Linked DNA regions of Homo sapiens: all the other regions are linked to region 4. The links are contacts of gene promoters, found by promoter capture Hi-C in blood cells and fetal thymus (Javierre and others, 2016). All regions are on one chromosome and are shown on one strand. Each heading gives the region's core, a stretch centred on a gene start or on the middle of the fragment in contact. The rest is flanking DNA. Distances are from core to core; before and after follow the strand shown.

Region 1 (3,951 bases), core at 1,324-3,823, 590 kb before region 4:
TAGGTTATTAAGAAATTACTGTTTATGATGTGATTAATGTGGGGTTCATATTAAAACATCTTGTTGATTCAAGATGAAGTCCACAAAAACACAGCCTTGGAATTGATCAATTATGTCTCAGTTCCAAAACCTTGAAAACCAGATCGCTGAACTACATGACCTCTCTGAAGACTCTTTCAACTCTAAACTCCTCAGATCTAAAACCAAACATAACCTAAACATATGCATCCTTCTAATTCAAAACTCTGTTTATCTAAAAATAGAATCACCTTGACCACTCATGCTGAAAATGCTTAGCATATTTGGGACCTACAAAGGTTAGCAGCTATTTTGTTCCATGCCTATTTTATTTGGCAACAAAATTTAAGTTAACATATTTAATTCAGCCACATGCTTCTTAGAGTTAAGTGACCACTTATCTATCTGGAGTGAAGACCCTTTTAATGACATACTTGTTTGTTACAACATTTGAAAAGCACATTTGTGTATTTTCAATATAGAGAAAATAGAGCAATGCTTAAATGCTAACTAAATACTAGTAAAAGAGATGAAAGTCAGTCACAGAATCAAATTAAATTTACACTTACTTTGACCTATTTTAATTACTGGTGAAGATTTTTGAATTAACACAAAAGAAAAAATGGGGAAGCCTGCGTTTTACATGGTGCATTCCTGTTAAGCAATGGGACTGTGCCTCAATGCCATTCTAGAAACAGGGCTCCCCTCCTCCAAGCCATTCTGCCCATTCCAGTCATTCATACAGAAGCCACTGAAAGTCCATGCCCCTAACCAGAATAGGTTCAGAGACACTCCTGGAGGCTCTTTACCCCTCCATTCCCAGAATTTATTCTAACAAACACTTCTGTGGATAGTTAAGAATTTCTGTCCTAACTCTCTTTTGGAATTTATTATTACAGAAATAAAGCTTGAACGCATGTTGTTAAATTAAAGATCTTGAAGAATCATGGAACTTTGGGAAAGAAAGGATAACTGTTCTCTAGTTCAGTTTTTCCCACTGCACTACTTAAAGTACCATTTTGTAAGTAATTTTTATTAGTATCTGACAGCAAACCTTTCTACAATATGAAAAAATTCCATGTGGCAGAATTCAAACAAGTATGTGTTAGGTCCTGTTTTTGGTAAAAGGTATATTGCTTTCTTTAGCCTAAAATAAAGAAACAGAACAACATCAATTTATATCTTAAGTTTATTCTTTTATCTTAGGGGGATTCCCATTGGGTTTAAAAGAAAACTATCAAATTTGATTTTTGTATCTACCATTAGCACATGCCTTGACTACTTTCCCATCAATTTTCATTCTACCTGACGAAGGAGAGGATCGCAGTACATCTGTTCAATAGTCTGAGTAGTACTTGCAATACAAGTCTTTAAATCTGTTTGGAAAAAGAAAAACAAAAGCTTCACTAAAATGATCTCATTCTATGTCACACAGGCTACTTTAACTAAGCAAAGAATATTGCTAGGGTCCTAATGATTTCAGCTTCCCTCTATGAACCACGAAGCAATATACAGTTTTAAAGCAGCTAGTACTTTAGGTTATGAAAGCTTTTAGTTCAATATAATTACATTAAGGTTTTAAAACATTATTTTTTATAATTGCCAAAATTTCTTAAAGAGTAAGCTGTTTAGGAAAAGATCTTAATGGGTCACTTGGCTGTAAAATGTATGCCTCAGACAGGATCTGAAATGAGAAAGCAGAACAAAGGGTAAGGCTAAATTTCTCTGAATAGGAATCTGGGAAGAATCTGTATTTTCCATCATCTTTTTGTTCCCTAGACAAAAGGAGACAGGAAGGGGGGTAAGGTTAGTCTGAGCAATATGGGCAATGAGGTCAAAGGGCTTTTTAAGAATACAATGCTGAATAATCCAATTTTACATTGTGCATACTGCTCAAATACCTCATTAACCTTCAGTAAAGCATGCTTCCTATAGAAAAGACTGAAGAGTAGAAGTCCAGAAAAGCTAAATGCTAAATCTGGGTCAACTTAAGCTGGAGTTCAGATAATCTACCACAGAAACAGAAATCAGTTGATGCAGAAAAATCTCAGCAAAGGTGATCATTTCCCAGAAATTTTGAGGGGGAGATCTTTCCATATCTGTATAATGGGGGTGTGTGAGCCAAGTTTACAGGGCACTAAAAGTGCAAAAGAAGTCACAATTACCATGTCAAAATTCAAAAGCATGGGCCAGACGTAGTGGCTCACACCTATAATCCCAGCACTTTGGGAGGCCAAGGCAGGCAGATCAGTTTTGGTCAGGAGTTTAAGACCAGCCTGACCAACATGGTGAAACCCCATCTCTACTAAAAAAAAAAAAAAAATCAGCCAGGTGTGGTGGTACATGCCTATAATCCCAGCTACTTGGGAGGCTGAGCCATGAAAATCGCCTGAACCCGGAAGGCGGAGGTTTCAGTGAGCTGAGATTGCACCACTGCACTCCAGCCTGGGTGATAGAGTGAGACTCCATCTCGGCGGGGGGGAAATTCTGTAGCATGTACAGTAATGTCAGGAAGTGTACCGAGGTGCTTAACCTCCAAATAGTCAAAAAACAGAAAAAGCAAAGAGTAACTGACAAATTTTAAAAGAGCCAACCTTGTATATCTTGTTCAATCTCACTCCTCCATCTCTGAAGACAGGTCTTAACAAAATTTATCTCCTCATCTGTGACTGTTCGTGGAGCTGGCTGTGAAGGCATTTCCATGGAAGACCGAGAAGATGTCAGTGGTTTAGACTTGGGTAAAGAATCTTCAGGAGAAGAAAAGGTACTTTCAACATCCTGAGAAGAGCTTTCTGTACTTGTACTGAGGAAGACAAAAATCATGCTCATATGATAATTTCCAAAAGATACCTTGGCCTAAATTATGTACTTTGGAAAGCAAGATGCTATATGAAAAAGTACAGGTATTCAGTGAGCATTAACTCTATAAAGGTACAGAGCCAACCTTTTTCTCTATCATCTCACGTACCACAACTGGCCTGTGAGGTAGATACTTTTCTATCCCTATTTTACCAACTGTGAGCCTAAGGTTTAAATAAATTAAGCAACATGCCCAAGTTCACCAAGCTGGAAGGTAATGAAAATGAATCCAAAGCCAGATCGGCCAGTCTTTAGCTCATGTTCTCTGATCACTGATTATTCCTTCCCATGAGGATGGGAAGAGAAGGAAAATGGAAAAGAGAAGACTAGGCCTGGAAGAATCAAGGAATCAACTACAGAGTTTACAAGATGAAGCCAACTAAAGTGACACTATCCTTCCTGGAACAAAATACACAGAAGGAAGAAAAAGGAAGCATCAGCTGAACATACAACTCACAGGAATACACACTAGGTGACACCTTGGAGAGTTCTGAGAGAAGGGCTTCAAGTCAAACAATCCTAGCTCTACTACTTTAGCTAAATACCCAAGGAAAAAAGTATTAATATCTCATCTACAAAATATAAATCTTAAGTTCTTTACGTCTTTTCTGTAAACTAACAGAGAATAAAGCATATCAAGTAAATGTTAATTTCTCTATTGTCAGAGTAAAACTGCAGGTCAACAAACCAGCAGGAATATAAAATAAGCTTCTAATTGTAGTTAGGTTTCTCTTTTACACCAAAGCTGAAGAATATAAACTTCCTTTACTTTGACTTAAAAAAAAACTCTCACTCCTGCCGGGTACGGTGGCTCACGCCTGTAATCCCAGCACTTTGGGAGGCTAAGGAGGGCAAATTACCAGGTCAAGAGATCGAGACCACCCTGGCCAACATGGTGAAACCCCATCTCTACTAAAAATACAAAACTCAGCTGGGCATGGTGGCACGCCTGTAGTCCCAGCTACTTGGGAGGCTGAGGCAGGAGAATCGCTTGAACCCAGAAGGCGGAGGTTGCAGTGAGCTGAGATCATGCCACTGTACTCCAGCCTGGCGACAGAGTGAGACTCCATCTCA
Region 2 (3,996 bases), core at 469-2,968, 600 kb before region 4:
ACCACTTACAAGATCTACGACCTTGGATAAATCATGGTCCCTATCGTCATCCCAGGGTTAAAATAATATAACTGAAGCACTGCACACAAGACTCAATATTGACAGGGATTAAAAAGTGAAAGGCAAATGGTGGCACACAGGATGTTAAACTGTAAAGGGTAATCAGTAAGAAAATTGATCAACTTCCCATGAAACAATCTTTGCGATGAGTTTTAAAACACTAAAGCACCTCTGAATATCTGTAAAGCATGGCCTACCATTAATCAAAATACATTTTGACCCTTGAAAAACACAGGTTTGAACTGCATGAGTCCCATGAGGATTTTTTTCAACCAAATGCAGATTGAAAATAGAGTATTCACAGCATGTGAAAACCCAAGTGTATGGAGGGTCAACTTTTCCTATATGTGGGTTCTGCAAAGCCAACTACAGAATTTGAGTATGCATGGATTTTGGTATATGCAGGGGTCCCAGCAATTGCCGGTGTCTGCTGAGGAATGACTACATAAGAAACTCCATTCTAAGAAAATTGCTGTTTTTGCATTCAAAAATTTGACAAAGTAGATAAGCTTACATGCAATGCAAATAGCCAATGAGATTAAAAAGCTTCAGTTACCACTAGGTGCTGCTCAATAATTGACTGTTGCCTTTTATTTCAAACACTGGCGCGTCAGTCCCCATCCAGTTTATCAACCCTCTAATCTGCTTTTTGGTTTTAAAGAAGAAAAATTGGAACAAGACAAATACCAAGTATGTCCATTTCCCAAATGGAAAATATATATTTAAATAAAGACCATACTGCACACCAAAGGTAAAACAAATACTTTTATTGCACATTTATAAAATCTGCATAGTTGTATCAATTTTTTTCCCTTTCATGATTCCATTAATCTTTAAAATTTGGTTAAAACACAATATCCAATCAGAAGCCTTTTAAAAATGATCAATGGGAAGTATTTTTCTCTACATATACATATATATATAGTTTTGCATATGTATGCTGGTTTTTTTTTTTTTTTTTTTTTTTTTGTACAAACCCACATCCCTTACTTTTAAGGGCAAAAAAGAAGGCCGGGTACGATGACTTGTCTGCAATCCCAGACTTTGGGAGGCTGAGGGAGGCAGATAGATCACTTGAGGCCAGGAGTTAGAGATCAGCCTGGCCAATATGGTGAAACCCCATCTCTATTAAAAATACAAAAATTAGCCAGGTGTGGTGGTGCATGCCCGTAATTCCAGCTATTCGGGAGGCTGAGGCACGAGAATCACTTGAGCCCAGGAGACAGAGTTTGCAGTGAGCTGAGATTGCACCACTGAACGCCAGCCTGGGCGACACAGTGAAACTGTCACAGAAAAAAAAAAAGAGCAAAAAAGAGGAGGTGGACCTAAATGGTCTTTGGGCCAGCAGTAGCCCTATTGACTGTTTTTGACAATTTTTAGGTATTAGAAAATTTTACCTAAATGCCTAATAACTATTAATGGATGATCTTCAGTCAAGTTACACAATGCTCTTCTGTCTAAAGTCCTTAATACTTTACTTTCTTTCACTGAGGACTGAGTATGAGGTTTTCTGGTTTAAAGATAGAAAAGAAAGGAGAGAGACAGGTCTCTTTTGACTTTTCAACATCTCACTGCCATGTGAGCTTATATTCTACCCACATGTAAAAGGGTGCAGTTCATCAGCAACCCATTTTGTTATCTCCTGGCAAGAGCCAGGCAAGGTTTATATTTCTAATCTCTTGTAGTTAAGAATTTTTAAATGTCATCTGTATTTGATAAAATAACTAGTAGCTGTTCATCTGGTTCAGGTTCTCATGAATCATTCTTCTATTCTGCTGTCAAAAATATTTATGCCTGAAGGATAATTTTAAAAGTGGCAAGAGGCTTAGAAAAGCCTAAGCATTGTTGTAGGTACAAGGCATTTCAGGTCTTCTGGCGTAATTCAACACCTTAATACACTGCTTTCTGCCTTTTCTAGTGAAACAGCTTTTATGATTTTGTACCTAAAAAGTGCAATTTTATTTTCAATCCTTCTTTACACATGCAGCATGGTTGGGGTCTGATCGGAATCTTATGTGCCCACCTAATCCTTTTCCCAAGGTGAGCACTATGACAACGAACTTCTGTGCAAGAGGCAGGCAGCCAGGAACCAGAATGGGCCTTGAACATGTGGGAGCTTATTTCACTGTCACAGTTGAAACTCCCTGAATTGACTCCATGACAGCTGCAAATCGGCTACATAGGTCATAGGGAGAATTGGGTCGAATAGTTGGAGGCTCTTTCAAGACGATGATTTCTGCAGAAGGATCTAGAAGTCTGGGTAGAAACTCCCCTAGGCACAGCTGCAGATTTTCTGTGGAGGGAAAACAGATGGTTACATATACAGCTAAACAGATTTCTGAGTAAAAGTGAACAAGCCTTCTATTAGCCCCTTACCTAACCTCAAAGGTCAAAGCATTATGCTGGCCAGTTACTAATAAATGATTATTCCTTCAGGCCAAACCAGGAGCAAAGGCAAATAAACCAAACTTTAGCTCACTGCTATATAACAACTATATAATTACTTTATTACGAAAGGGTCTTCTAACCAATTGTCTTCTTAAAATACAAGGAAGTAGATATGATACTCTAGCATAGATATGATGGTAATTATTTTCTTTCAAATGTTTACAATATATCAGTGTATACACATGGTTTTAAATCAGGGGTGTACAGTCTTTTGGCTTCCCTGGGCCACACATGAACCTCACTAACAATAGCTGATGAGGTTAAAAAAAAATTCATAATGTTTTAAGAAAGTTTAGAAATTTGTGTTGGGCTTCAGGTTGGACAAGCTTGGTCTAAATAAAAACTGAAGACAGTAAAGGGAAACACATGGCAACTAGCTATTACAGGATTTTTAAATAAATACTATCAACTTAAACACTTGAACAAGTCAATGGAATATCTTTTTTTTTTTTTGAGACGGAGTCTCACTCTGTCGCCCAGGCTGGAGTGCAGTGGCGCCATCTTTGCTCACTGCAAGCTCCGCCTCCCGGGTTCACGCCATTCTCCTGCCTCAGCCTCCCAAGTAGCTGGGACTACAGGTGCCCGCCACCACACCCGGCTAATTTTTTGTATTTTTAGTAGAGACGGGGTTTCACCATGTGAGCCAGGATGGTCTCCATCTCCTGACCTCGTGATCCGCCCACCTCAGCCTCCCAAAGCGCTGGGACTACAGGCGTGAGCCACTGCGCCCGGCCTTTTTTGTTTTGTTTGTTTTTTAAAGATAGGGTCTCACTCCAAGCTGGAGTGCAGTGGTATGATCTTGGGTCACTGTAGCCTCGGCCTCCCAGACTCAAGCAATCCTCTCACCTCAGGCTCCTGAGTAGCTAGAACTACACTATACCCAGCTAAGTTTTCATTTTTTGTAGAGGCAGGGTCTCACTATGTTGCCCAGGCTGGTCTCAAACTCCTGGGCTCAAGTGAGCCACCCACCTTGGCCTCCCAAAGTGCTGGGACTACAAGTGTCAGCCACTGTGCCTAGCCCCATCAATAGAGTATCTCTATGTCAGTGAGAACCTAACAAAGAGGATTCATATCAGAATATATAACAATTTTCCAAGTCTACTGAACTCACCTAAAAACAACCAGCTTTACATTCCCTCCTTAAGATGCTTTAAACAAGCAAGGACAGTCCACTAATTAATCTTGAAGTCATCATAGTTAATATGCTATATAACTTCAAGCCACAGAAAAAATTCATCAAGGCACCCCTCCCATAACCATACTCTGCATGATTTTTTTTTTTTTTTTTTGGATATGGAGTCTCATTCCGTGGCCCAGGCTGGATTGCACTGGTGCTATCTCGGCTCATTGCAAACTCCGCTGCCCAGGTTCAAGTGATTCTCCTGCCTCAGCCTCCCGAGTAGCTGGGATTACAGGCGCCCATGACCACACCTAGCTAATTTTTGTATTTTTAGTAGAGATGGGGTTTCGCCTTGTTGGCCAGACTTG
Region 3 (3,913 bases), core at 414-2,913, 530 kb before region 4:
ATGACTTGGTTCATAAGTTTGAGACCAGCCTGGGCAACACAGAGAGACCCCATTGCTAAAAAAACTTTTAAAATTAACCACAGGCTGGGTTCGGTGGCTCACGCCTATAATCCCAGCACTTTGGGAGGCCAAGGCAGACGGATCACCGGAGGTCAGGTGTTCAAGACCAGCCTGGCCAACATGGTGAAACCCCGTCTCTACTAAAAATACAAAAATTAGGCGTGGTGGCATGTGCCTGTAATCCCAGCTACTTGGGAGGCAGAGGCAGAAGAATCAATAGAACCCGGAAGGCGGGGGTTACAGTGAGCTGATCTCACGCCACTGTACTCCATCCTGGGCAACAGACTGCGGTCCGTCTCAAAAAATAAAATAAAACAAAAGTAGCCAGGTGTGGTGGTGCATACCTGTGGTCCCAGCTACTCAAGTGTCTGAGGATTGCTTGGGTCTGGGTGGTCAAGGCTGCAGTGAGCCTTGACGGTGTCACCACACTCCAGCTTGGGTGACAGAGTGAAACCCTATCTCAAAAAACAAACAAGACATCTCAGTTTCCTCATCAGTAATAGGGTAATAGTTCACACCTTGCTGGGTTTTTGTAAATAAAAATGTATGGAAAAGTGCTTAGGGTGGTACATAGCATATGGCAGACACGAGTAATACAAGTGTACATTCCCATGCCTAGTATAACAACCCTGGGAAAATAAGTATGAAGCAAACGTTTATAGCCAAGGAGGTTGATATTCAAGCAGACCTGTTCAAAAAGCACTGGGAAACAGAGTATAGAAGTCATTTGCAACTCAGGATTAGAAATGTAGATTTGGAGCCAGGTGTTCACGCCTGTAATCCCAGCACTTTGGGAGGCTGAGGTGGGCAGATCACCTGGGGTCAGGAGTTCAAGACCAACCTGACAAACATGGAGAAACCCTGTCTCTACTAAAAATACAAAATTAGCTGGGCATGGTGGTGCATGCCTGTAATCCCAGCCACTCGGGAGGCTGAGGCAGGAGAATCACTTGAACCCAGGAGGCGGAGGATGCAGTGAGCCAAGATCGTGCCAATGCACTCCACCCTGGGCAACAAGAGCGAAACTCCGTCTCAAAAAACAAAACAAGAAAAAAGTAACAGCAAAAAAGTGGTAATGAGGGATCATAAAAGCATAAAATAATAAAAGTATGAGGGGGCCAGGTGTGGTGGCTCATGCCTGTAATCCCAACACTTTGGGAGGCCAAGGCAGGAGGACTGCTTGAGCCCAGGAGTTCAAGACCAGCCTGGGCAACATAGCAAGACCTCGTCTCTATAAAAAATTAAAAAAACAGCCAAGTGCGGTGATGCACGCCTGTGGTCCCAGCTACTCAGGAGGCTGAGGTGGGAGGATCGCTTGAGCCTAGGAGGTCAAGGCCAAAGTGAGCTATAATCACATCGCTGCACCCCAGTCTGGGTGACAGAGGGAGAGATCCTGCCTTGGCAAAGTAGGCTGCTGAGCAGATTCTGATTACATAAAACCACTCACTGCCTTTCAACCTAACCTGCTGCTGCCTAGTCAGTCCCTCTGCAGGCCTCTGAACAATCAGCCATTTGCTGGAGCCCAGACTGGTCCACACGGCCATCTCATTATTTGGCTTTTGCAGAAGCTGTTATTGCCACCTTAAGCTCTGTAGCAGAATCTGGGAACCAACCTTCCTCAATCTCCTGTCAGCTAAGAGTTAGTCTTGCTCAAGTCTGTCTTTTCCAAGTTTTGTATATTGAGTCTGAATACATTGTCACTGGAAAAATGTTTTAGAAATGAAACAGGTGGGGTTAGAAACTTTGTTCCAAAAGCAAACAAGAGGAGGAAGGTGGAGACAACAGCTGGACTGGGCAATAGACACTTTTGTTGTTGTTATTTGGTTTCAAGATAGAGGACAAGTGCACGGTAAAATGGAAAATGCAAATTCAAAATGTAATATGCAAATGAATCACCCAAGAATCTTGTCAAAAGGCAGAAACTGATTGAATAGGTCTAGAGTGGGGGTACAGGCAGTGGTATGCTGATTGGCAGTGTATGCTTGTTTCCTTGGTATAAATATTCCCACCTTGGCACAGTTATCAACACGAGGTCATTGAACACAGAGCTGGAAAGAGATGTACAAAATCAGCTGGAGAGGCAGAGCAAGCTGGCTCTAGCACACTCAACTTTCTGCATGTCTAAATCCTAGGGGATGTGAATGCTGCTGGTCTGTGGACCATAATGTGAGTAGCAAGGGAGAAGACAGTGAAGGTGTCTGGGGGTTAGACTAGGACTAAGGAGAAGGGACATAATAGAAAGAGAAGAGAGACATCATCTAGATCAGAGTTTGTCAAGCTCAGCACTATTTTATACAATTTACACATAACTCTGTTTAGAGGGGCTTACTCCTGTACACTGCAGGATGTTTAGCAGCATTCCCGGCTTCTACGCACTACATTCCAGTAGCATCCTCCCTCCAGAGTCACAATCAAAGTCTCCAGACATTGCCAAATGCTTCCTAGATTACAAAATCTCTCCCTAGTAAAAACCATTAATCTAGGTTTATCTCTAAGAAATGAAAGGGGGAAAAAGGAAGGGAACCTTTTCCACTGAAATAAGAGAAAAGAGATGAGATGGCGTAGGGAGAGGGGGACAAAACAGAAGGCAGGGAGCTCTTTTTAGACATCAGCGAGCTCAGTCAAGTAGAAAAGAAGATTATCTATTTAGAAAGACTGTAGGGAGGACTGGAAGTTTAAAACATTAGGAGAGTTCTAGAAAAGGCATTATAAGAGTAGTGGAAAGTCTGTGATCCAGGGCAATGGGCCCATCAACTATGAGATAGGACCAGGGGCGCCTTGGGCTCTTGGGGTCAGAACTGCCTAGATACAATTCCAACTGTACCATATCCTCACTGGGTGACCTTGGACGAATTACTTAACAAGTATAAGCCTTCTCATAGAAACTTCATGGAGTTGTGTAAGTACTGAGAGAATGCTATGTTAAGTTCTGAGCACCGAGTCTGGCACATAGTGCATGCTCAATTAGCATTAGCTATTACTATTACCAGCATTATTTTCCTTGTTAAGTACTTGCTTCATTTTACTATTGATTTAATTTCTTTGATGAAACAGAACACATGGAGAGATCTCGCCTGGTAAGATGCTATTTGCCAGTAAGTCTTAAAAATACTGTTTGCAGACCGAGGCGGGCGGATCATGAGGTCAGGAGATCGAGACCATCCTGGCGAACACTGTGAAACCCCGTCTCTACTAAAAATACAGAAACATCAGCCGGGCGTGGTGGTGGGCACCTGTAGTCCCAGCTACTCAGGAGGCTGAGGCTGGAGAATGGCATGAACCCGGGGGGCGGAGCTTGCAGTGAGCAGAGATCGCGCCACTGCACTTCAGCCTGGGCAACAGAGCGAGACTCCGTCTCAAAAAAAAAAAAAAATACTGTTTGCATTTGGGGGCAGAGGGGCATGAGAGTTGTGGAACCAATCACTGACTTACTGATGTTTTAAAAATCAGTTAATGAGACAAAAGGAAACGAAAGGTCAATAAATCAAGAGAAAGCAAAAAGGGCATTAAATTTTCACTGAAACTGGCAGGTTTTTATAAGGCTTCAGCTGACATAAAGAATGTGTGATGTGAACCCTCAGTACAGCTGCCAAGAATGACAGGTTTATAAGAACCAAACTGACTTCAAGTTGTTTCTCCTGTAATAACAGTAAATTTTGCTGCTATCGAAGTCAAGAATTGATTAAAATACAGGAATCTGTCACTATGTAACCTCTTTAGATATTCGAATACCAGTTTGCAGTCTAGAGGATTTAGTGAAATCATAAAGTGTCTACTCTCAGATTCGAGTCCATACTGATAGCATATTTCAAGAGTACTACATATTTCTCGCACTAAAATTCTTGGGAGGCCA
Region 4 (3,708 bases), core at 392-2,891:
CTGCTGGGAAAAAGCTAGTCTACCTGCTTATATAAAGAGCTGGCACTTACAAAACCCATTAACTTTCTCAAAATACCACCCTTTAAACATTGGGAAATGTATGGTTAAGAGAACAAAAATAACAGCAAATAAGGAGTGATCAGCCAGGTAAGAGAAGAACCAGGATAGTGCAGTATTATGATGAAAAAAAAAAAAAAAAAGTCACTGCAACCAGTACTTATGTTTATTACTGTACCTAATAAACAGCCCAGCGTGGTGATTCCTATTCACTTAGTAGCCTCCCCATCTAGAATATACTCCGTGATCTTTCTTGATGGCCAGACTGTGTAAAATTCATACAGTGTTTACTACAGGGATCCCCAAATATTGTTAGTTGAATGAACAAACACACATTTCAAGGAGGGCACTACAGTGAGTAGATGAACAGTTTTCTGATAGGAGATTGTACAAGTAATGTTTTCACCAGTGTATTTTAGGACAGCAGATTCAGATTAATGCGCTGGGACTGAATGCAAATAGTAAAATTACAAATATAAAGTAAAAATTTGGAACCTTTGCCAAAGAAAGGAATAATAAATTGATTTAATAATTTGAAAGAACTGTAAGGTTTAGGTTTTGTTCTTATTTTTAGTGCGACTGAGATTGGAGTCTGTTTGTAGACATATCTGAAAAAAGTGAAGGGGGAGATGGAAGATGGTAAATGCCAAGGAAAAGATGGAAGGATAAATCAGTGTAATAAAAAGGAGCACTTCTTTTTCGCCAACAGAAGTAAAGGTAAAGGTTAAGTGTCTGAGTTAACGAATGGATTGTTGACCTCTGGGGAGGGTGCTCCCATCAGCTCAGCTTTGTGACGACCTAAGAATATCCCTTCCACACCTTTCCTGATCCAATCGTTCTGGCTGCATAAAACCACCTAAATCAATCAACTGTTACACTTCCCTTAGTGCTAGGACATATTCATATAACTCCCACGTATTAAATGAAAATACATCCATCTAAAAATAAAACAACACGATTGCTGCTACACCAAGAAAGGATTTTAAAAAGGCCTGTTCACAAGCTAAGTGAGGGCCAGAGGAAAGGTGTTCGTTTAAACTGAAATTCGAGCTGCGATAACACCTCCTAATGCAATCAAACGCTGTTGCAGCACACTTCTTAGGAGATCGGGTTCAACGGCAGGGATTGGGTAAGGTGAGAATCTGGCTTGGCGGCTCCGGCCCCGGCCATCTGGTTCCCTTGGGCTCCGGCCGCCACCATCCACTCGACGGCTCTCGGCCCGAACGCTTGGTCGCACCGCCTGCCGAGGTCCTAGATGAATCGCTTCAGGCCTGGAAACGAGGAAGCCGTCTCCGGAGACCATCGCCAACGCTGACGCCCGCGGTCTGAGGTCGCCATGGGAAGAGCGGTAGGCCACCCTGCTCCTCTGATCACCGGAGGACAGGGACACATTGTTCAGGGCCATATTCAAACACTGCCCGCAGTACTTGCGTTACGTCCCTTTGTGAAGGCAGGCCCTTCGCGGCTCCCCAGATCAGTCCAGCCTGTGTCGGACCCGATGACTAAGCACACAGGAACCCATAACTGAGCCTGCGGAAGAGCCAGAAGCCGCCTTGCCTTTAACGAGGGGTATCCTGGCGAGCATGCGCAGACCGTCCGCGCACGTCGTCGCCCGCTGAGAGCAAGCGCAACGGGCGTTTTCGTTTGTGACGCCAGGGAGCGTGAGGACGTGGGGCTTCCGTGAATGCGCAGTGGGTGCGTCGGCCACGACCTTTTGGCCAGGTTAGGGAGGGGGCGACGCTGAGATGGGGGCGGCGGCGGCGGAAGCGGATCGCACTCTCTTTGTGGGCAACCTTGAAACGAAAGTGACCGAGGAGCTCCTTTTCGAGCTTTTCCACCAGGTAAGCGGCTGGGTTCGGCCCTTTGCCTTTCGTTTTCCGTCTCGCCTAGGGCCTGGCCAGCGGCCACCCCGTTTTCTTTTCGTAGCCGTCAGGGGACCCGACGGGTGGCTGTTTGGGGGTGAAAGGCGGGTCTGGGTTGCGAAACGCTCGCTGGGTGTCGCTTTCCTGGAAGATCTTGGTTCGTTTAGGCCGAAAGTGACGACTAAAGGTGGTGGAGGGATCCTCGATCAGGTTTCCCGTGGTAGAGATCCAGGGGTCCTTGGGAACACAGTGTGTGTGTAGGGTCTTCGTTGAGCAGTGCTTTTTCTTATCCTTCCTGTTGTCATCTTCCCCTTAGGATAATTTGTCTTTGGTTTATCTGACTGGGAACTTAATATTTTAATTTATTTGTGTCTGTTTTCCCCTAAAGTTTGCTTATCAAATTGCAGCATTATTAAAATATGTAAAATAAAATGGTTAAGTACTCCGTAGAAAAACAGCATTTTAGTGTTGCTGTATTAAAAAGTGTGAAAAATTCTGAGTATCCTATTCCCCCCATCCCTATCCCCTAATAACTGGTATTGTTTGATTAATCAATACAAAAGTCCGTTTTTAGTTAAAGAAAATCATTCTCTTGTTCTTGATAAATGTTCATTTTCATGGAGTGGCAAAATAATGGCGATTGGTCACTATGTTAAGCCATACAGTGCTGTGAATTGCAAAAGTGATTGTGTTTCCAGTTCCTTATGGGCCCCCTTCCCCAAATAAATCTAATGTTCAGTCATAACTAGGATGTTTACTGTAGCCAAAATGGAAATCCGTGCATCATTTTCAAAAGAAGTTTCTGATTACGTTTCTGTTGTTTTTAAACTTTGTCATATCTTATTTGTAAAATTTGAGTATTTTCCCTTAGTTGCTTTATTTAAATTCTAAACACCTTTTTGTTTGTAGGCTGGGCCAGTAATAAAGGTGAAAATTCCAAAAGATAAGGATGGTAAACCAAAGCAGTTTGCGTTTGTGAATTTCAAACATGAAGTGTCTGTTCCTTATGCAATGAATCTACTTAATGGAATCAAACTTTATGGAAGGCCTATCAAAATTCAATTTAGATCAGGTAACTGCCCAATGAGGTTCGGGGGGCATTGTTTCCTGCTGTTTTTAAATTTATTATTCAGTTTTAAAGAACCTCTTATTTGTAGATGAAACTTCTTTCTTAAGCATTGTGAATAGTAAACTTTATATAGCAAACTTTATATATCCCTGAAAACGGGTAACATTGACACATGGATTTTGAAATTAGAATTTCAAAACTGAGCTTAAAGTTTCATTTTGGGTTAGTGAAAAAACATAAACTGTATCACTAAGAGAGCTGGGCTTGGGTACTCTGAAAAGAGCTAGGTTTATTTTCTGAAAATACTTCTCCTGGCTGCTTTGTAATTACTTTTATATATTTTGGTTCTTGATCATGTGAGGATGAAACTGTCCATGTATCCAGTGTTACAATTTAGGGTGGAGATCAGAAAATTATGGTCAGATTGGATATTTATGGAGTGCTTTGTTTTGCTTATCTGATATTATACACTTATAATTTTCACCCCGATGAAGCCGTAAAGCGGTCTACAGCAGCTTGAGATTCTTTTTTTTTTTTTTTTTTTTTTTTTTTTTTTTTTTTTTTGAGATGGAGTCTTGCCCTGTTGCCTAGGCTGGAGTGCAGTGGTGCAATTTCAGCTCACTGCAACCTCTGCCTCCCAGGTTCAAGTGATTCTCCTGCCTTAGCCTCCTGAGTAGCTGGGATTACAGGTGCACGCCACCACGCCTGGCTAATTCTTTG
Region 5 (3,826 bases), core at 1,263-3,762, 640 kb before region 4:
TTGGTTATATCAGATTAATAGAGGTTTTAATGGAAATATGTAAAACAACACTTGGTTCATTTCTTCTTCTCCTATAATTAAAGCACGAGTTCCAATTTGTGACGGTACTGGGAGTCCAGTGAGAGAAGTGCATCCTAGAATTCAACTAAAATAATATCACAAATACAGAATCTGGGGTACCACTGATGGCCCTACTTGTCAATACAATGCAGAGAAGGAATGCAAAATAGGCAAAAAAACAAGAAGGCAACTCTTTTGCCCCTATGGCACAATTTACTTACTTTTCATCCTCCTTTCTCACACATTATAGGCATTTCTACTTTAAAATAATATTTACTTTTATAAACAATATTTAGTTTCCAAAATATAAAAGCACTGCCTTGGAGACACATACCTAGAAGCTGTTTCTGGAGCACTTCTAGTACCAGTCTGATCTTTGTAAAAACTTCAGATGGTGATGGATATTCCAAGTTAGTCATTATAGATTCAAAACGAATAATAACTATGTTAGGCTGGCTTTCTATCACAGCATGAAGGGATGGGCAAGATGCCAGCGGCCTAAGGATATACTTCAGCAGCATCTGACCTGAAAAATCATATGAACATTCATCAAAAAATCACCATAAGACACTTCTAGGCCAGGCACAGTGGCTTACATCTGTAATCCCAGCACTTTGGGAGGCCGAGGCAGGTGGATCATCTGAGGCCAGCCTGGCCAACATGGTGAGATCCCGTCTCTACTGAAAATACAAAAATTAGCTGGGCATGGTGGCAGGCACCTGTAAATCCCAGCTACTCGGGAGGCTGAGGCAGGAGAACTGCCTGAACCCAGGAGGCAGAGGTTGCAGTAAGCTGAGATCATGCCATTGCACTCCAGCCTGGGCGACAAAAGCGAAAACTCCATCTCAAAAAAAAACACTTCTAAAAAGTAAGCATGTCAAAAAAAAAATATGAATCTTTGAACCTAACAACCAAAATACATATACCATGACATTACACACCAACCATTATGCGGTGCAGGTTTTACCACTGAAGTTTCCCAGATTGTCTACAGATTTTTATTTAAATTATTCAAAAACCAAAAAAAAAAATAGGAACAGTTGAAAAAAAAAAAACCCAATCCCTTAATAAAAGGGATAATATTTAGGACAATTCTCTTTGATGAATCAAGAGGCCAGACCCTATACTAATACTCTGCAGAGAATATTTTATCATCTTTTCTGTCTTCCCTTTAATACTGGGCCTCAGGAGATTTTGTGTAAATGAAACAAAGTAGCATGCCTTACCAAATGATTTAAGCTTGCTGTGTAGTTCTCCAAGAACAGAAAATGCCAAGAGGACAGAACTGATGGGTGGCATAGGGGTCTTCTCCTCTTTGTGCGATTGTTCAGTGTATAAATGAAGTTCAGTTTGTAGGTAAGATTCCAAACTGCTGGTATCTAAGAAAAAGGAAGAAAAATATCAGCTGTCTCACCAATATGAGATGTTCCCACTTCTATTCCTCAGAGCTCATTCTCTGATATTTCCAATGCAGTTCTATTACAATATACTCCTAATGCAACCAAATATGAATTATGACATACATGTCCTTGGCATCACTTTAAAAAAGGAAATGACTTTTTGAGGTCAGGTGCAGGGGCTCATGTCTGTAATCCCAGCACTTTGGGAGGTCGAGGCGGGAGGATCACTTGAGCCCAGGAGTTCAAGACCAGCCTGGGCAACGTAGTGAGACGCTGTCTCTAACAAAAAATTTAAAAATTGGTCAGGCGTGGTAGCACGCACCTGTGGTCACAGCTACTGGGGGCAGGGTGGGAGAAGTAGTTGGGGCTGAGGCAGAAGGATCGCTTCAGCCTGGGAGTTTGAGACTGCAGTGAACTATGATTGAGCTACTGCACTCCAGCCTGGGCGACAGAGCGAGACCCTGTTTCAAAAAAAAAGAAAAATGAGGTCCTAGTTTCACAGACCTTCCTTTCTATGTTCTTTCTGCCAAACAAGTTTAACAAGTAGGGTGTGTTATAACAAATAATTCAACACACCTGCCCTCTTCTCTTAACTAATATTCTACTTGAGAACAGAATCTAAAATTTTCAGGATAACTCCCTTCAAATACCTGACACACATACACATATGCACATATGTGTCTATGTACACACATATGTATATAATGAATTTGTAGGCCAAAGTGGATATAGGAAAGGGAACAGGGGGAGAAAGTTTCTCTTGAAATACACTAAATTTCAAAATCCAGTGTTGGAAAATACACCAGGTACAATAGCATGTCCTTTAAATACAGCCTCTGAAGTTTTACTCTCAGGGCAAACAACACACCAAAGAGGGCTCATACCCAGAGGTAGGCAGAAAGGCTGACAGCCAAGTAGCATAAATCAAAGCCAGGGCAGAAGTAATCCTATTTCTTCACCTTGCAAAGCACTCCCTAGCTCATTATTTTCCCCAAGGACTGGAAAGAAATTGAGCAAGACCCCTCCTCTACCCACAAGCCTACTGATCCATCTTCTTTCCTAAGCAAGAGAGAGAATGGCTAGAGAGCTCCTTTACACTTTCTAGCCAAGATAAACTGCTAGGATTAGGGCTGTCAGGAACGGGCACGTCCTACAAGGCAATGGAAACTTAATGTGGTCGCAAATTGCTATCATCTCCTCTAGCACACTCTCACCACATGATCCCAACTACCCTAGCATCTTTTCTCACATTTCTAGGGAACAGGACAGCTAAGAGGGATGTAAGGGAAGCAAGGTGAGGGCACTTTAGGGACCCAGATGAGTTGGTCCTAAGAAAGCATCTTGCTAACATGAGTGCTCAATACAGACATGGAAGATTATGAATGAACCCTCATCTACTAATACAAAAATGTAGAATATATTCAGACACTACACTGGTTCAGGCAGATGAAGCAAAGCAGTCCACCTGAGGTCAGCAGCACCTTTTGATGGTGGGAACTTCCATACAATCAGCTTCTGCCACTCTTCTCCAAGGTGATAAAGTATGTTCTGTTTCTGTATTGTGAGCTCCATGCTGAGAGATTTCAATATTTTTAAATCAAAGCATTTTCTGGATTTTAATAACTTCAAGCATTTCTGTGCCTGGTAACGAAATGGAATCACTGTTAAACATTCCATCTGGACTCAGGGCAATTAGAATATATTTGCATAATGATAAAAAATACAAAATTTACTGAAAACAAGAAGAGCACTTATTGCGCATGCTTTGGGGAGAGCATTTAGTACCTCTTCCAGACGCTGAGCACCAGTGACATACTTCTTCTCTGTTAATGCACAATTATATTCTTCAATAGCAGTGGAAAACTGAAAAGTTAAGTATAATATTTTATACATCCTATTATTTCAAGTCTGTTTGCTTTTAAACATTAAGAAATGCTCCCACTTTCCCTCCCCCTCCCCCCTCTAAAAAAAAAAAAAGAAAGAAAAAAAAATATGAAGACAAAAAAACCCATTATAGTCAGGAGATAGCCATTGACTAATGAGACCTTCCCACCACCAAAACACTAAGGTTCAAGTTGAGTTTACTGACCTCCTGCAACTGTTTAAGCAAACTTAGGACAACTGAGTCTCTTTCCAACTGCTGCTTTAAGTCTGTAAATTCACCGGTTGATACGTGAAGATCCCGGCGGACCTAATTCACACATCAAAAACAAGTACTTTTAAGCTATACCATACCTAAGAAATAAAAAATTTAAAGCAAATCAATAAGCTTTACTAGGTCAACATAATTTATGTTGAAATTTAAATGCTAGTTAAGACTGGAATAAAAATCACAGAATGTAGTAGGAAGATACCTTAGAGGTCCA
Region 6 (4,095 bases), core at 1,527-4,026, 550 kb before region 4:
GTTTTACTATCCCAACAGACCATGCAAATGCTTTCAGTGCTAAAGAAATACCACAATAGAACCATTTAAAAATTTCCACCTTCCTGGAGTGAGCCGTTTGACTCTCCCCTTCCCCATTCTTTTGTTAATTAACCTAATGTTTTTATTAGCATCTGTAAGACCCATGAGGGGAAGCTGAGGTAGCATTTCACAGGAGAAGGGTGACAATTTCCCAATCTAAGATAACAAATTTGAGAGCAATGGTTACTCTCAAGCCCTGTTAAAGAGAGTATAAATAGGTAAAAAATTATTTTGGAAAAGACTGTCATTACCTATAAAGTTGAAGATAAGCGTATCTTAATACCTACCAACTACATCACTAGATATATACACTAAAAAAACTCTCGCATACAAGGACAAGCAGCATGAATCCGAACAGCTCACAGCAGGCTTGAATAGCAAAAGCTTGAAAACAACCCCAAAGTCAATCAACAAATACATACAATGTGGTATATATTCAGACCATGGAATACTACACACCAGTGAAAATGAATGAACTACAGTTATAATCCTCAGCATGGGTGAGTCTCAAAAAGAACAATGTTGACCGAAAAAAGTTGCAGTGTGTACCAAGAGAAACATATGAGAATACTCACAGCAGCATCATCCAGAATAGCTCAAAACTGTTAACGGCCCAAATGTCCATTAACACCACCTCGCCTTCCTCCCAGAAGGTTCCAGAAGGTTCTCCTTGGTCTCTCCTCCCAGAAGCCTCCGTGGCTTCCAGAGTCCCATTCTCCTGGCTTTCCGTGGGCACTCTTCACCTCCCCAGACCTCTGAACATAGGCAGCAACCAGTGCTTAAGCTGCAGAACCTTTTCTTTCCCCTATACCCACTCCCTTGGAGAGCTCCTCAGTCTCACAGCTTTACAGAGCCTTTATAGGTTACGATTCCAAGTCCACCTACCTCCAGCCTGGACCTCTCCTCTGAACTGTGCACCTGGGTCTCCACCATCTTTCTGACACTTCTGCCGTGAATGTCTAACAGGCATTTCAAATTTAGTATTCCCCAAACTGATCTCTTCATCTACCATCTCAAATCTGCTCCACCTACAGTGATTCCCATCTTGGTTAAATGCTTCAGTTGCTTAGGAAAAAAATTTTTGAGTCACCTTTAACTCCTCTCTCTCTCACACAACCCTACCTCCTCAGTAAGTAAATCCTACTGCCTTTACCTTAAAAATAATATATGCCGGAATGCCAGCACTGCTTACCCTCCACCACAGCAGCCTGGCCTGGGTTCCCTAATCTGACCCATGCTTGTCACTACCTCCTCCCCCACATTCTGTTCTCAACACCACAGTCAGAGTGATGGAAAATGGAAATCAGTTTATATCATTCCTTTGCTCCAAACTCTTCAAAGGCTACCCACCTAACTCACAGCAAAAGCTAGTACTTAGGAAGGTTCTGAATGATCCACCTCCTTCTCTTTCCATGGCCCCATCCCTTTCGGCCCTCCTCACTCACTAAGCCTTAGCCCTGGCCTCCTTGCTGTTCCCTGAGCAAGCCAAGGTGCACTCCCATCTTAGGGCCTCAAATGACTTACTCCCTCACCTCCCCTGCACATTCTTAAAAGTCCATCCCAGCCAGGAGCAGTGGCTCACACCTGTAATCCTAGCACTCTGGGAGGCTGAGGCGGGTGGATCACCTGAGGTCAGGAGTTCAAGACCAGCTGGCCAACATGGTAAAACCCCGTCTCTACTAAAAATACAAACAATTAGCCAGGCGTAGTGGTGGGCGCCTGTAATCCCAGCTACTCAGGAGGTTGAGGCTTGAACCCCAGAGGCAGAGGTTGCGGTGAGCGCAGATCGCGCTATTGCACTCTAGCCTGGATGACAGAGTGAGACTCCATCTCAAAAAAAAAAAAAAAAAGTCCATCCAATTGGAAATACAGTCCCCAGCACTCTTTTTTTCATTTCTTTCTTCTGTCCTTTTTCTCCATGGTATTTATCACATTCTAATATATTAATAATTTATTTACTTGTTGATCTTCTCCCACTAAAAAACAAGCTAAATGCAGGCAGGGCTTCAAGAGTGCTTGGCACATAGTTGGTCCTCACTAAATAAATGCTAAACAATGAGTAAATGAACAAATGAAACTTTTTTTTTCTTTTTAAGAGACGGAGTCTTGCTCTGTCGCCCAGGCTGGAGAGCAGTGGTGCGATCTCAGTTCACTGCAAGCTCTGCCTCCCGGGTTCATGCCATTCTCCTGCCTCAGCCTCCCGAGCAGCTGGGACTACAGGTGCCCACCACCACACCCAGCTAATTTTTTGTATTTTTAGTAGAGACGGGGTTTCACCGTGTTAGCCAGGATGGTCTCGATCTCCTGACCTCGTAATCCGCCTGCCTCGGCCTCCCAAAGTGCTGGGATTACAGGCATGAGCCACTGCACCCGGCCAGAACTTTTTACGTGCTTAGAATTGTGCCTGCCACATAGCAATAGCTCAGTAATAAGCTGTTATTACTATTATTTTCAAAGGGCTGATGTGATTGACAGGGAACTCACATATACTTGGTTTGTTATTTTCTGCTAGTTCAGCAAAGGACCAAGACAGGATATATGGTACCTACTTGCTAATACTTCCTTGTTGGCAGCACTCCCCTCTACTTCAGATGGTTCTGTAGCAACAGTGTCTTGACTGGGCTCCTTAACTCTCTCATCAGTGAGAAGGCTGACTGCCTGAGTAATGTCACCATTACTGGCCTATGGGAGAAAAAGACAATAGAAATTTCAAAAGTAATCATAGAATTTAAAACCAGTTTTGAGTATTAACTTTATTACCCTGGTGACACACTGAGTACTTTCAGGCATAATTCTAGGGTAGAATTATGAGACTATGGTGGACAGTAGGTCTAATGTGCTTGAAGCGTCTATTAAATGCCTCATTACAGGAGGGAGTTTCCATGCTCTGACTTCCCACAACACCCAAACAAAAGTGAAATCTTGATGGAGATTTGTTCCCATTGCTTCGGATACTACTACTCATGATTTCTCTGAACAGTCTAAAGCACGATGTGTCAAAAAAGGGGGCTGGCAATTAACATAGACATTCTAAATGAAGTCAGCCCTACAATAAAAATGCCAAGCAGGGCAGGCGCAGTGGCTCACACGCCTGTAATCCCAGCACACTGGGAGGCCAAGGCGGGCAGATCGCTTGAGCCCAGGAATTGGAGACCAGCTTGAGCAACTTGGCAAAACCCCATCCCTACCAAAAATACAAAAACTAGCCAGGCGTGAGTCCCAGCTACTAGGGAGGCTGAGGTGGGAGGATCGCTTGAGCCCAGGAGGCAGAGGGCAGAGGCTGCAGTGAGCCGAGATCACACCACTGCACTGCAGGCAAGGCAACTGAGTGAGATCCTGTCTCCTGTCTCAAAAAAAAAAAAAAAAAAAAAAAAAAAGCCACGCAGTTACCTGTTTTCTAGTGGTGATCATTCTTGTTTTTAATGTTTTATGAGGAAACATTTCTAACATATATACCAGGAAAGGGAATAACAGAACCCCATGTACCTATCACTCATCTTCAACAATTACCTAGTCACTTAGTCATAACCTTTCTTATTTTCTCTAAACCTCCTATACTCTCGTAGATATTCTGAATCAAACCCTAACCATCTTATCACTGGTCAACATTTCAGAACATATCTTTTAAAAATATAACCCATGGCCCGGCGTGGTGGCTCATGCCTGTAATCCCAACACTGTGGGAGGCCAGGTCGGGTGGATCACTTGAGGTCAGGAGTTCAAGACCAGCCTGGCCAATATGGTGAAACCCCGTCTCTACTAAAAATACAAAAATTAGCCAGGTGTGGTGGCGCATGCCTGTAATCCCAGCTACTTGGGAGGCTGACTGAGGTGGGAGAACAGCTTGAATGCGGGAGGGAGAGGCTGCAGTGAGCCAAGATTGTGCTACTGCACTCCAGCCTGGGCATCAGAGTGAGACTCCATCTCAAAAAAAAAAAAAAGTATATATATATACATACCTTAAGAATAACAACAGGTTTTTTCAATATCAGATAACCAGTTCAAACTTCCCTGACTCAAATATTATTTAGTTTG
Region 7 (3,881 bases), core at 14-2,513, 620 kb before region 4:
GCAGCAAGGGGAGCCTGGGGAGGGAGCACCTCCCTCTGGGGATATTCTGTGTCTGGGTAGGTTCCTTGGATTGAGGAATTTAAAATTATTTTGTAAAATTAATATTTGTGGGCTTTTTGTAATAAAAATATTAAGTGATAAATTTATAAAATGTGTAAAATGCGTAAAATGCATAGGTAAGCACAAATAAGGAAATAAAAACTATGCATAATTTTATCACCAAAATAATCATGTTAACATTTTGTGGTCTACACATATACACACACACACGCACACACACACGCACACACACACGCACATATTTCTATATATTCTTTGGCTTTTTCTTTTTTCTGAGATGGGGTCTCACTCTGTCACCCAGGCTGGAGTGTAGTGGCATGATCTCGGCTAACTGCAACCTCCGCCTCCCAGGTTCAAGAGATTCTCCTGCCTCAGCCTCCTAAGCAGCTTGGACTACAGGCGTGTGTCACCATGCCCGGCTAATTTTTTTCACTTTCTTAGTAGAGGTGAGGTTTCGCCATGTTGCCCAGGCTGGCCTCGAACTCCTGGCCTCAAGTAATCCACCCACCTCAGCCTCCCAAAGTGCTGGGATTACAGGCATGAGCCACCGTGCCCGGCTGCATTCTATATATTCCATGTACTGTTTGGTCACTTGCTTTTCTCACTTAACAATATATCAAAAATATTTTTCAAATCATTAAAATTCTTTCTACAAAATCACTTTAAAATGGCTGCCAAGTATTAACAAAAACTGACAATTCTTAACAATATTTCAATGGACATTTTCATAAATCTTTGTACGTATTCATGATACATTAGGTAGATTCCTGGAGATAAGGTGCTGGGTCAAAGTATGCATATGTTTAAAAGCATGAAACATAAAGTCATGTTGCCCTTCAAAAAGATTATATCAACGTATATTTCCAGAACATCAATCATTCTTGTGATCTCAGAGCTGAGGAGTGATTTTAGTTTATGAATTTATTCATCAAATATGTATTGATGGCTCCCTGTATGGCTTTTTTGCTGGTCATGGGACCCTCCCCCAGATTTCACACCCACATCCGATATTGGACACACCCTCTAAACCCAAACATTGCCAATTCCTGGCACCTGCCTCAGCTGCTGCTCAGAATACTGAAACAAGAGCCCTCTCCCAATGTGAAAGATCTTCCACTCAAGCCTCCTGAAAAGTAGTCCCTGCTAACCAGTCACTGACCCACTCGTGCTCCTTTTCTTTCTGCATCTGTGGTGGGAGTGACTATGGCCTGGAGTTTCCGTGCAAAAGTCCAGCTCGGGGGGCTACTTCTCTCCCTCCTTGGCTGGGTCTGCTCCTGTGTTACCACCATCCTGCCCCAGTGGAAGACTCTTAATCTGGAACTGAACGAGATGGAGACCTGGATCATGGGGATTTGGGAGGTCTGCGTGGATCGAGAGGAAGTCGCCACTGTGTGCAAGGCCTTTGAATCCTTCTTGTCTCTGCCCCAGGAGCTCCAGGTAGCCCGCATCCTCATGGTAGCCTCCCATGGGCTGGGCCTATTGGGGCTTTTGCTCTGCAGCTTTGGGTCTGAATGCTTCCAGTTTCACAGGATCAGATGGGTATTCAAGAGGCGGCTTGGTCTCCTGGGAAGGACTTTGGAGGCATCCGCTTCAGCCACTACCCTCCTTCCAGTCTCCTGGGTGGCCCATGCCACAATCCAAGACTTCTGGGATGACAGCATCCCTGACATCATACCTCGGTGGGAGTTTGGAGGTGCCCTCTACTTGGGCTGGGCTGCTGGTATTTTCCTGGCTCTTGGTGGGCTACTCCTCATCTTCTCGGCCTGCCTGGGAAAAGAAGATGTGCCTTTTCCTTTGATGGCTGGTCCCACAGTCCCCCTATCCTGTGCTCCAGTGGAGGAGTCAGATGGCTCCTTCCACCTCATGCTAAGACCTAGGAACCTGGTCATCTAGGACTGGCTTCTGCCAAGGATCTCTGGAATAAAGGAATGTCTGTAGACTCCTTTCTCACTCTAGGTTTGTTTGCTTCATTTTGGGGCTGGTGGTCACTGTCCCACTTATCAAGGATGTGATTGTCTTGATGATATGGTAGTCCTCATTTCAGAATAAAAAATCAGGGCACAGTGTCTAACAAATGTATTTTTCTGATTTGAGATTTTATTTAGATAAAAATGCTTTAAAAAACTCATAACCTTAATTACATATTTGATTCTTTTATTACTAAGGAAAAATATATTACAAAATTGCAACCATCAGAGAAAATCTAGTGTGAAGAGGCACTTACTGTTCTGAATAGGTTACAAAAATAAAACTTGAAGAAGGTACCTTGGCAAAGGAAAATGAATTATTGTTCCAGAACAGCATCTTAGGACAGAAATTCTCTTTGTGTCCATTTTCAGCCTCAGGTGTACCATTTGAAAGACAACTTCACAATATACCTTTGCTGTTTTATAGATCCTTAATATCCCAAAGGAGAGACATAGGCTTGTTTCTGCTACATTGTGAGGCGATGAGCAGTCTACTCTGTCTTCCCCACCTGAAGGTTAACAGTCAGTCTGAGTGAGTGGTAGGGTGACCAACCCTCCTGGTTTGCCCAGAACAAGGTACTTTTGGTGCTAAAACTAGGAAAGTCCCAAGCAAACTGGGACCCAGTGATTACCTTAGAATGACTGTGTCCAAATACTGCCCAATGTGGTCATGTATATGAAAGAAGTAGCTTCTCAGAAATGTCTTTTACCAAGTGCAAAATCACAGTATAAACTCCTTGAATTTTGTTTTGCTGTGTTTTTTTGTTTGTTTGTTTTTGTTTTTGAGACAGGGTCTCACTCTGTTGCCCAGCCTGGAGTGCAGTTGCATGATCATAGCTCACTGCAGCCTCAAACTCTTATTAGGCTCAAGGGATCCTCCTGCCTCAGCCTCCTGAGTAGCTGGGACTACAGGCATGAGCCACCAAGCTCAGCTAATTTTTAAAATATTTTGTAGAAATGGGGTCTCGCTATATTGCCCAGGCTGTTATCAAACTTCTGGCCTCCTCTTAAATTTTAACCTGAGTGTCAGCAGACCTACCCAGGTTGTGGCTACAAATCAAGTCCCTTCCATAACGATAACCTAAGTTCCTTTGCTTGCTCTGCCTGCAATGGCAGGCTCTCTCCTGACTACCCCACCTCAGGTCTTCCTCTGGCATTTCTGCAGGTCCTCAAGGAGGAGCCTCCTGTTGCTCATAAACCTGTTTGTCAGCTGCAATTATCCTGCAGCATCCACCTTGTTCCTCTCCCTGCCACCTGTCCTCCACTCCTGTAATCAGTTCAAGAATCACCATTGGCCCTGCCAACAATTCCCTCAGGAGAGCAGCTAAAGGGGATGGCTCCTAATGCCCTAAGTAGGTCACTTCTCCAGGTTCAGAGGCGTGCTGCATTCCTCACAGTACCAGGGACATTCCGCCCTCCCCAAGCTGGTGCTGTGCTTTGTCATCTCAGCTCTGAGGTCTCACAACGCCTCTCGCCTCCTGATAAAATAGCCCCAATATCACGAGATAGCCATTGCTCAAGCAAGAATACACAGACTATGACACAAGAGTAAAAAAATTTGCCAAAGTAGCCCAGGACAGTTCCCTCCTTAGAAAAATGCCATTTTTTTTTTCCTGCTGAAATGGAGTCTGCACAGGTGCAACTTCATCTTCTGCAACTCTTACCTTCTTACCCAGAGCAGATTTCTCTTGAAGTCACAGTTTCTCCAGAAAGCTCCTTCTCCTTTTATGCCTGTCCTTTTGTGTATGTCTACTTGGCACGCACAAATCAAAATGATCCCTAGGCAAATACAGCTCTGAGTACAAAGGGCCAGTTTGCATCAAAGGTGTATTCTGGCTTTCTGTGTCTGGTAAG

Evidence for each region. Contacts are between HindIII fragments. The CHiCAGO score rates a contact against its expected background, and 5 or more counts as called.
Region 1: a contact is called between a fragment that was not itself captured here and the fragment with the promoter of C11orf71 in region 4, in 3 of 17 cell types (activated CD4 T cells, naive B cells and fetal thymus). The highest score is 6.3, in activated CD4 T cells.
Region 2: a fragment that was not itself captured here is called in contact with the fragment with the promoter of C11orf71 in region 4 in 6 of 17 cell types (total B cells, naive B cells, total CD4 T cells and 3 more); the score reaches 10.1 in total B cells.
Region 3: a contact is called between a fragment that was not itself captured here and the fragment with the promoter of C11orf71 in region 4, in 10 of 17 cell types (total CD4 T cells, non-activated CD4 T cells, monocytes and 7 more). The highest score is 12.8, in total CD4 T cells.
Region 5: a contact is called between a fragment that was not itself captured here and the fragment with the promoter of C11orf71 in region 4, in 7 of 17 cell types (activated CD4 T cells, naive CD4 T cells, naive CD8 T cells and 4 more). The highest score is 6.6, in activated CD4 T cells.
Region 6: a fragment that was not itself captured here is called in contact with the fragment with the promoter of C11orf71 in region 4 in 2 of 17 cell types (total B cells and total CD8 T cells); the score reaches 7.0 in total B cells.
Region 7: a contact is called between the fragment with the promoter of CLDN25 here and the fragment with the promoter of C11orf71 in region 4, in 10 of 17 cell types (total B cells, naive CD8 T cells, total CD4 T cells and 7 more). The highest score is 19.3, in total B cells.

Annotation. Positions count from the first base shown.
Region 1 is chr11:113,812,562-113,816,512 of GRCh38, forward strand. It overlaps USP28 (ubiquitin specific peptidase 28), which reads right to left. Exons shown (of 26, transcript NM_001346252.4): 14 at 2,613-2,821; 15 at 1,324-1,394. Among named protein-coding and RNA genes, the nearest start is that of CLDN25, 35 kb to the left of the region's middle. The HindIII fragment of the contact is 2,019 bases long and covers 1,565-3,583 here.
Region 2 is chr11:113,797,063-113,801,058 of GRCh38, forward strand. It overlaps USP28 (ubiquitin specific peptidase 28), which reads right to left. Exons shown (of 26, transcript NM_001346252.4): 26 at 813-2,353. The coding sequence ends at 2,178. Among named protein-coding and RNA genes, the nearest start is that of CLDN25, 19 kb to the left of the region's middle. The HindIII fragment of the contact is 2,228 bases long and covers 605-2,832 here.
Region 3 is chr11:113,869,069-113,872,981 of GRCh38, forward strand. All of the region lies in intron 1 of USP28 (ubiquitin specific peptidase 28), which reads right to left. Among named protein-coding and RNA genes, the nearest start is that of USP28, 4.5 kb to the right of the region's middle. The HindIII fragment of the contact is 5,153 bases long and covers 1-3,913 here.
Region 4 is chr11:114,398,870-114,402,577 of GRCh38, forward strand. C11orf71 (chromosome 11 open reading frame 71) reads right to left here and starts at 1,642. Exons shown (of 1, transcript NM_001271562.2): 1 at 1-1,642. The coding sequence starts at 1,462. The coding sequence ends at 1,091. It overlaps RBM7 (RNA binding motif protein 7), which reads left to right and starts at 1,797. Exons shown (of 5, transcript NM_001286045.2): 1 at 1,797-1,898; 2 at 2,829-2,991. The coding sequence starts at 1,803. RefSeq lists enhancers at 884-1,426, 1,140-1,529, 1,427-1,969. The HindIII fragment of the contact is 8,162 bases long and covers 1-3,708 here.
Region 5 is chr11:113,757,268-113,761,093 of GRCh38, forward strand. It overlaps ZW10 (zw10 kinetochore protein), which reads right to left. Exons shown (of 16, transcript NM_004724.4): 3 at 3,550-3,651; 4 at 3,246-3,323; 5 at 2,942-3,101; 6 at 1,287-1,439; 7 at 395-586. Among named protein-coding and RNA genes, the nearest start is that of ZW10, 15 kb to the right of the region's middle. The HindIII fragment of the contact is 2,430 bases long and covers 1,298-3,727 here.
Region 6 is chr11:113,849,892-113,853,986 of GRCh38, forward strand. USP28 (ubiquitin specific peptidase 28) reads right to left here. Exons shown (of 26, transcript NM_001346252.4): 3 at 2,610-2,742. Among named protein-coding and RNA genes, the nearest start is that of USP28, 24 kb to the right of the region's middle. RefSeq lists enhancers at 1-310, 311-851, 852-1,392, 1,393-1,932. The HindIII fragment of the contact is 4,668 bases long and covers 443-4,095 here.
Region 7 is chr11:113,778,533-113,782,413 of GRCh38, forward strand. CLDN25 (claudin 25) reads left to right here and starts at 1,264. Exons shown (of 1, transcript NM_001101389.1): 1 at 1,264-1,953. The coding sequence starts at 1,264. The coding sequence ends at 1,953. The HindIII fragment of the contact is 9,706 bases long and covers 1-3,881 here.